Regions from separate parts of the Homo sapiens genome. Here regions 2 and 3 are each linked to region 1. The links are contacts of gene promoters, found by promoter capture Hi-C in blood cells and fetal thymus (Javierre and others, 2016). All regions are on one chromosome and are shown on one strand. The core of a region is centred on a gene start or on the middle of the fragment in contact, and the rest is flanking DNA. Distances in the headings are between cores, read along the strand shown.

Region 1 (2,953 bases), core at 132-2,631:
GAATTCCCTTTCGCACAGGGTGGACCAAGGCCTACTCCCCCCAAATTTCCATCCCCAAATTACTAGAGCTGCAATCGGCAACCTGAGGTGCACCTGAACAGCCCTGGGCTGCCTGCTATAGCAGCTCAGCAGACACCATGGCAGCCTTCGATCCATCCAGGGAATGTTGCTGCTGCCACAGGGTTAGGAGACTGCACGCCAGGAGTGATGGGCAGGCCAAGATAGGCCTAACTAGGTGAGTGCACACTCCTGCAGGGAAAACAGCAGCAAGAGAAAAGACGTCAAGTCAGGGACTGGCTTGGCAGAGAACAGAAAAAGGGAGATCACCCAGGGCAGGGACTGGGCAACATTTTTCTTCCCACCCATCCTCCTATCAACGAAAAAGCTTAGGATGGTTGCCTTTTGTGCAGGAAACGCATTTCTGAAACTCTGAAATCATTCTTAATTCACGAGAATGTCAAAAGCAGGATTCACATGTCGGAGTCTGTACACAAACTGAAACTTTATTTTTGTTTTAATGTGGCACAGTTTTAAATGAGCAGGAAATGCCACGGCTATGTGTTTTGAGGAAGAACCCATCTGCACACTAAGGGGCAACGCTCCCGACCCAAAGAGGGAGGGAGGCCGGGCAGGCTGCAATGGGGGAGGGCTGCCATGGGGCCAGGGCGGAGGAAGCAGGTAAGGCTTCTGGCCTGCCAGAGGGCTGGGGGAGCCTGGCTGAGCGGGAACTTCACTGATGGCCGGGGGTTCCAGGCTGAGGGCCCAGGGGCCCATTTATTAGGGGACCTCGGCCCCCGGCCGGCTCAGGAGGATCCAGTTCAGCTGAACGGGGCCCTCTACCCAAACAGGTCCGGCAGAGCTGGGGAGCCGACCGGCCGAAGGGCATCCTAGCGTGGCCGGACTCACAGGAATGCGGTCCAGCCCAGGAGAGTCCTTCCCCACCAGAGCTACGTGAGCGTGGCGGGAGCAAAGCCCGGCCGGCGGGGCAGCGGGAAGCGCGGCCCGGCCGGCCGAGGGGGTCTGGCGGGGACCCCCGCGCTGGTCAAGTGGCCGGGTCCGCTGAAGGCTCCGGGAGCCGGGGCACGGCGCGAGGGGAGGGCGCGGCCCGCGCGGCACTCACTCTCGGTGACCCGGCTGAGGCGCAGGACGTGCTCGGGCCGGATGGTGTCCAGCGCCAGCAGCTCCTGCTCCGTGACCGCTGCCCCGACGCCGTCGTCGGCCGCGTGGTGGGGCGCCTGCCGCCGCGCCTTCAGGCGGTTCAGGACGCCGCCGCCCGCCTTCTTCTTCTCCTCCTTGCCAGCCACCAGCCCCCCGGGCCCAGCCGCCGACGCCGCGGCCGCAGCCTTCGGGTTAGACCCGCTCATCGCTCCGCCGCCAAGATGGCCGCCGCCTCCACAGCGCGGTAACTATGGAGAGCGGGGGCGGGGCCCGGGGCCCGGCGGGGAAGGGGCGGGGAGGGGGCGGGGCGGGGGCGGGGGCGGGCGCCCGGGGGGCTGTGGAATTCCCTTTCGCACAGGGTGGACCAAGGCCCACTCTCCCCAAACTTCCATCCCCAAATAACTAGAGCTGCCATCAGCAACCTGAGGTGCACATGAGCAGCCCTGGGCTGACTCCTATAGCAATTCAGCGGACGACACCATGGCAGCCTTCGATCCATTCAGGGAATGCTGCTGCTGCCACAGGGTTAGGAGACCGCAGGCCAGGAGTGATGGGCAGGCCAAGATAGGCCTAACTGGGTGACTGCACACTCCTGCGGGGCCCGGGGGGCGGTGCTTCGGCTACTGCCCCAACTTTGGTCCTGCCAGGTGGAGGGCCTAGGGGTGGCTGGAGCTTCAGCAACCCCACTCCCCATCAGACCCCCAAGATCCTCCACGATGTTTAAATACATATCTTACGGTCAAATGAATTTACGTCATATAAACTTTCCTCCTCCTCATCCTCCTCCTGGTCTGAAAGAGCACACAGAATCTTCCGTGCACCATCTCGGCATTCTCAATCCAAGAGTTCTGTCACCAGTCCCAACAGCACAATGGCAACTAATTCCCAGTAATCACACCAAGAAGAAGAATGGCCAGTGTTTACTGCGCACTTGCTATATGGCAGGACACTTGCTATAGGGCAGGCTCCTCACCTCACAACAACCCTGTGAGGTATTACTGTCTCCATTTTACAGATCAGGAAGCTCAAGTTCAGAGAAGTCAGGTAACATGTCCAAAGTCCCTCAAGCAGTAAGAGGAGGGAACAGGGATTTTAATCCAGGTCCATCTGACCCAAGGCCTGTTCTTCAACACTAAGCTATTAGTGGACAATGCATCTTGAGAAAATGTTTATTAATATATTTAGCATAGAAGGTAAGTTAAAGCAGTGTTTGTTTTGCAAAGGCAGTTTCAAGACAAACTTTCCAATGAGATTGCCATCCGTAAGCCCTACTGTGCCAGGCCCTGGGCTAGACATTGGGCTAGGCTACAGGAGATGTAAGAGTGAGGGCAGGGATTGGGTCTGCCTCACCCCTGAATTCCCAGCAGTTCAGCTAATGCCTGACACGTGGTAGGTGCTCAGTAATGATTGAATGAGAGCCTGAACAGTATCCCACTATGGAAGAGCTCCCACTTTTGTTAGAGAAGACTGTAAAGTACACAATTCATTATGTGACCCTTCCTTTTCACAAGGTAGGTTAGTATGAACTGGAAGACAAACTAGATTCACTGACTGCACTAAGAGATGCAGCAAAGGTGCTAGGAGAACACACAGGAGTGGTTTATTCTGACCTGGCTGTAAAAGCTTGAGGGCTTCGGAAGTTTTCAGAGGCAATATCTGCACTGAGCTTTGGAAGTTAGCCATGACCTCACCAATTAGCCAGAAGTGGGTCAACAGGGGGATGTGGTCTACCGTCTTCCACCCTGAGGGGCTCCTTCTCTAGGGATTCTAGATCTGCACTGTTCTGTGTTGGAGG
Region 2 (2,828 bases), core at 182-2,681, 520 kb after region 1:
GAGTAAAGTTTTTCAAACTGGGTGGTGCTCCAACTCGGTGGTAACCAATTTATATTTTCGAGATAGTCTCAAATATATTTGAGACTGGGGTGCAGTGGCTTGGACTTGGCTCACTGCAACCTCCGCCTCCTGGGTTCAAGTGATTCTCCTGCCTCAGCCTCCCAAGTAGCTGCAATTACCGGAGGCTGCCACCACACCGGGCTAATTTTTTTGTTGTTGAGACAGTCTCGTCCTGTCACCCAGACTGGAGTGCAATGGTATGGTCTCAGCTCACTGCAACCTCTGCCTCTCGGGTTCAAGCGGTTCTCCCACCTCAGCCTCCCCAGTAGCTGGGACTACAGGCATGTGCCACCACTCGGCTAATTTTTGTACTTTTAGTAGAGACGGGGTTTCACTATGTTGGCCAGGCTGGTCTGGAACTCCTGACCTTGTGATCTGCCCGCCCTGTCCTCCCGAAGCGCTGGAATTATACAAGGGTGAGCCACCGCACCCGGCCTTTTTTTTTTTTTTTTTTTTTTTTGGTATTTTTAGTAGAGACAAGGTTTTGTCATGTTGACCAGGCTGGTCTGGAAATCCTAACATCAGGTTGATCTACCCACCTCAGCCTCCCAAAGTGCTGGGATTACAGGCGTGAGCCACCATGCCTGGCCCCAGTATTTAAAGAGAAAGCAGCATCTGCTGAGAATAGGTGTTTTTGTTGTGATTCCTGTATTTCACTTAGAGATCTGTCTGCTGGAACATGATATATTCATTCTAACTAGGTCTGTGTCAAAGGTTTGAAAGCCACTGCTAACAGGGCTGACAACTAAGCTGTGGAGACCCTGTTCCCTAAATTGCAGCCACGTCTGCACGTAGCCTCTTGCCCTGTGGCCTTCAAAACTCCCAGCCTGGGGCGTCCAGCATTTCCCCAGGGCAGGGGCCTCGTTCAGTTCTGAACCTTCCCTGACCTCCGTATCCAGCCACGTTTGCTAACCCTGTACAAGTCATCCGCCAACTGAACTACAAACTGAGGACAAAAGACTAGTTCACCGACTCTTTTACCTAGTTTTTAGTTCCTGCTATCTAGGAAGCAACACTTGTTTTTCTAAAGAACTTAGTCATCACTCAGGAAAGGCCCACGTAGGGCTGGCCCTGCGGGCTGGAAGTGGGTCAGGGGCTGCAAGGCGGGCCCATAGCGTTACACCGCGGGCTCACCACGTTACAAGCGCTAGTCTCCCACGAGGCGCCCGGGGCTGAAGAGCGGGCCCTGGGGAGGAGGCCTTGTGGCTCGGGCGCGGGCCAACTTTAAGCCCGTGATCCGGCTGCCCGGGCTGCAGCGGCCGCCGTCCTGCCCGGGGGCACCAAGCCCGGGGCCCTGCCCCCGCTGGCTCCCGGCCTCGCCCTGCCGCGTGGGCCACGCTGTGACCCGGAAGCGTTCCGGAAGCGGTTCCGGAGTCAGCCCCGGCAGGATGGCGGCGGACACGCAGGTGAGGCGGGCGGCTGCGGGGCCAACGCGGCCAGGGACTGGGTGCGGACGGTGGCCGTCGGGCGGGGCCCCTCTCGCTCCTCGGCTTAGGGGCGTTGGAGGTGGTGGCTGTGGAGGTCGTAGTCTCGGGGCCGTCTCAGGCTGGACTCTCAGGGCTGCGGGCTTGGCCCGGCCCGGGCGGCGCAGGCAGACCGCGGGCTCGAGGAGTCCGGGGCTCCCGCCTCGACTTCAGCAGCTGGAGCTCGGCGGGGCCTTTGCCCGACCCCAGAGTTGCAGAAGTTCACTTTACCGAGCCTCTACTTCTTTTCTCCAAAGCCCTCCGGCTGTGAGCCCCGGGCCAACGCCAAGTCTTCCTTAAACTTTGTATTCAGCAAATATTCTTTGAGCACCTACTATGAGCAGGGACTTTGAGTGTAGTCTTTGGATTCATACAGATCTGGGCTTGAGTTCCTGCTCGTCGATTTCTGTGACATGCCAAACAAGTGACTTAACCCCGCCAAGTCTGCCTTTTCATCTATAAAATGAAGTTAAAACAATACTTATCTTAAAAGGTTGTTGTGAAGGTTCAGTGAGATAAAATACGGCTTGATATATGTTGGTTGTTATCAGATCCAGGGTTAGTGAAAAGAACTGTCCTGTCCAGGAAGAGTGTTACCTATGGGTACCTTGTAGTTCAGGAAGGACCTGGGAAAACCTTTTCCTCCACCCAGTTGTTATGTTTTAAGGTGAAAAGACATTGTCATGAGGCAGGGGAAGAACAGGTGTCTAAGGACAGCTGGGCTGATTTGGTGTCTCCAGGGTGATGGGATTGATTTTTATGTGTAGGCCCAGAAAATGACCACTTAAGCATTCAAAAAGACATTTACTGAGACTCCTATGCAGGTGGCTGATGTTCAAGTTATGTTGTACTGAATACTAGAAAGAAAAGCTTAGTATGAGAGGGTTAGGGGAATACATGCTGAATGTTTAACATTGATACTCACTTGAGGGAAAAATCTCTAGAGCTGCAATGTCCAGTATGGCAGCCACATGGCTTAAGTTTGTTAAAATTAAATTAAATAAAAAAATTCATTGTTTGGCTGGGCGTGGTGGCTCACCCTGTAATCCCAGCACTTTGGGAGGCCAAGGCGGGTGGATCAGTTGAGGTCAGGAGTTTGAGACTAGTCTGACCAACGTGGCAAAACCCCGTCTCTACTAAAAATGCAAAAAATTAACCGGGTATGGTGGCATGTCTGTAATTCCAGCTACTCAGGAGGCTGAGGCATGAGAATCGCTTGAACCTGGGAGGCAGAGGTTGCAGTGAGCTGAGATCGCACCACTGCGCTCCAGCCTGAGCAACAAGAGTGGGACTCTGTCTCAAAAA
Region 3 (2,978 bases), core at 90-2,589, 520 kb before region 1:
GCCCTCGTATAGGGCACCAACCCCATTCATGAGGGCAGCGCAATCCTGACTCAGTCACCTCCCCAAGGCTTCACCTCCCAATAAGGTTGCCTTGGGGATGAAGTTTCCAAAATGTGAATTTTGGTAGACACATTCAGCCCATATCACCATTCCTAAACATTCCAGCTTCATTTGACCCATGTGCCTAAGCAAGCACTTTTTATTTTTTCAGACAGGGTCTCACTTTGGTGCCCAGGCTGGAGTACAGTGGCACCATCATAGCTCACTGCAGCCTCAACCTCCTGGGCTCAAGTGATCCTCCGGCCTCAGCCACCCAAGTAGCTGGGACTACAGATATATACCGCCACACCCGGCTAATTTAATTTTTTGTAGAGATAGGGTCTCACCATGTTGACTGGGCTGGTCTTGAATGCCTACGCTTAAGTGATCCACCTTGGCCTCCCAAAGTCCTGGGATTACAGGCAACAAGCATTTTTTTTTAAAAGGCAGCATGAACCAGAGCTTCAATAAAGGGAGTTGGTAAACTTTTTTTTTTTTTTCCAAAAGCAAGAAAAGCCCAGGTTGGCCATTTATCCAGCAGAAGCAGAGTATTTGTAAAATAATGGTTCCTCTCAGTACTTGGAAGTGAATTCATGGCAGAGGCGAAGGGCAAACTGCTTCCTCTAGGGGGATTCTGAATACCTGATGCAGAATTCAGCTGGTGTGTGGCTGGGTGCAGTGGCTCACGCCTGTAATCCCAGCACTTTGGGAGGCTGAGGCGGTGGATCATGAGGTCAGGAGTTCCAGACCAGCCTGGCCAACATGGTGAACCTCTGTCTCTACTAAAAATACAAAAATTAGCTGGGTGTGGTGGCAGATGCCTGTAATCCCAGCTACTTGGGAGGCTGAGGCAGGAGAATTGCTTGAACCCAGGAGGCAGAGGTTGCAGTGAGCCGAGATCATGCCACTGCACTCCAGCCTGGGCAATAGGGCAAGACTCTGTCTCAAAAACAAAAAAACACAAACATTTAGTTGGTGTGAAGCTGCAGCTGGAAATAGCTTCATGAACATTTCGAACCTGTGCGGAGCTAGGTATGCGTGCTGCTGCTTTTGGTTGGAGACTTTTGGGAAGCAAACAGGGAAGGGAGAGGAAGCCACTTCCATGTTACCAAAAATTGTGTTACCCACAGCATAGAATTGTAATTTTATGTCAAAATGGAGGCACAGGTAAGATGTCACTAGAGAAAAAGTGTCCTGTGAACTGTGCAGGAAGACAAGCTAATGACAAATTATTAGGCTTTAAAAAGTAGGCAGCTGGGTGCAGTGGCTCATGCTTGTAATCCCAGCACTATGGGAGGCTGAGGTAGGAGGATCGCTTAAGCCCAGGAGGTGGAGACTGCAGTGAGCAGTGATTGCGCCACTGCACTCCAGCCTGGGTAATAAAAAAAATAAATAGGCCAGGTGTGGTGGCGCACACCTGTAATCCAATCACTTTGAGAGGCTAAGGCAGATGGATCATTTGAGGTCAGGAGTTCGAGACCAGCCTGGCTGGCCAATGTGGTGAAACCCTGTCTCTACTAAAAATACAAAAATTAGCCGGGCATGGTGGCATGCACCTGTAATCCCAGCTACTCGGGAGGCTGAGGCAGGAGAATCGCTTGAACCCGGGAGGCAGAGGTTGCAATGAGCCGAGATTGCACCACTGCGCTCCAGCCTGGGCGACAGAGTGAGACTCTGCCTCAAAAATAAAATAAATAAATAAAGAAGTAGGGGAAAATGTGCATAAGTGCCAGAAACAGACCATCCCATGGACCTTTTCTGAGCACAGTGAGCCGGAATAGTGGATTTACTGGTTGTCGTAAAAGGGTAGGAAGGAAAGTTCTAGCACATGCTATGAGACAACAGACAGGGATTAAGAAAATCACGCTTTAATGTCTGGTCCTCGATCACCTTAGCACAGCGCTTCTCTGAGGAGAAATGCCAGCTCTGCCGCATGGCTGCAGGGAATGGTCGGGGGGAAGCCTGCAGCCCAGGCCTGCTACAAGTCTAGTGACTGCAGCCAGGCGGCCTCCCCTGCCGCATAAAGTGCTTGAACAGAGCCGCCGTGCCTCAGAGGACTGGGCCTGTCCTGGAGAGAGCTGGAGACAGGAGGCTTCTGAGCAAAGCCAGCTCCAGCCCTGAAAGCCACAGCAGTGCCACTGCGTCGGGCCAGCGCTCCCCCGACAACCCCAGGTTGCGGGAAAAGCAGAGTTGACCCAGCCAAGAACAGACTGCTGACCTCCTGGGCCGAGTGGGCAAACAGATCCTGCACACAACACACAGGAGCTGCTGGGGAACCCTGAGTGCTTGTGGAGTGGAGACTCAATCAGATTCCAGAAATTTCTCTGGGGTGATGTGGTGGCCATTTCTCCCTCCTCCTCCTCTCTGTTCTTTGATGGGGCTGTGGAGAGCCCAGGTGTGGGGTAGGCCTCACTGGTCCAGCTCACTAGCAAGACCCTGCAAAGAAGGACACAAGCAGATCAAGGTGCCCCTGGGACCCCTTGTGGCAGGCGGGAGGGAGGTGCGCTCCTGGGACTTCACCGCCAGGGGTTCTCAAGTTGGTCCCAGGCCTGGAACCCAACCCTTCCTGTTCCGCAAGGTGCACTGAAGTAGTGTGTGCCCACAGGCATTCTCAGAGCATGCATTATCATCACCAACCTGAGATGTCGCTCATTGAAACGAGGCTGGGTTTAAAGAGTCAATCTAGTACAGGGGCCTAGGGATGGAGCAGCTGCTGAGAGTGGCAGGACTGCCCGGGTTAACGGGGACACCACGCCACACTGGTGCCAGCCTCTGCAGAAGGGCCTCCCCAGACAGGCCCACGCCCAGGGCTCCCACACCCAAGAGATGAGAGGCCTGTGCCTGCTGGGGGCCAGGAGGGGCCTACCTGCTCGTAATCTTCCACATATTTATATTTCTTCTCCCGATAGTAGAGTCTTTTCTTCATGCAGTAGAGGACT

Evidence for each region. Contacts are between HindIII fragments. The CHiCAGO score rates a contact against its expected background, and 5 or more counts as called.
Region 2: the fragment with the promoter of GCN1 here is called in contact with the fragment with the promoter of UNC119B in region 1 in 1 of 17 cell types (non-activated CD4 T cells); the score reaches 5.1 in non-activated CD4 T cells.
Region 3: a contact is called between a fragment that was not itself captured here and the fragment with the promoter of UNC119B in region 1, in 1 of 17 cell types (M1 macrophages). The highest score is 5.4, in M1 macrophages.

Annotation. Positions count from the first base shown.
Region 1 is chr12:120,708,886-120,711,838 of GRCh38, reverse strand. It overlaps UNC119B (unc-119 lipid binding chaperone B), which reads right to left and starts at 1,381. Exons shown (of 5, transcript NM_001080533.3): 1 at 1,121-1,381. The coding sequence starts at 1,364. LOC124903036 (a long non-coding RNA gene) reads left to right here and starts at 1,333. Exons shown (of 2, transcript XR_007063491.1): 1 at 1,333-1,402; 2 at 1,565-1,906. RefSeq lists silencers at 1,072-1,341, 1,432-1,491 and an enhancer at 622-1,464. The HindIII fragment of the contact is 2,396 bases long and covers 388-2,783 here.
Region 2 is chr12:120,193,318-120,196,145 of GRCh38, reverse strand. It overlaps GCN1 (GCN1 activator of EIF2AK4), which reads left to right and starts at 1,431. Exons shown (of 58, transcript NM_006836.2): 1 at 1,431-1,466. The coding sequence starts at 1,449. RefSeq lists a silencer at 1,134-1,723. The HindIII fragment of the contact is 5,843 bases long and covers 1-2,395 here.
Region 3 is chr12:121,233,020-121,235,997 of GRCh38, reverse strand. It overlaps P2RX4 (purinergic receptor P2X 4), which reads right to left. Exons shown (of 12, transcript NM_002560.3): 11 at 2,906-2,978; 12 at 1,892-2,475. The coding sequence ends at 2,449. Among named protein-coding and RNA genes, the nearest start is that of P2RX4, 24 kb to the right of the region's middle. RefSeq lists an enhancer at 1,629-2,256. The HindIII fragment of the contact is 6,150 bases long and covers 1-2,978 here.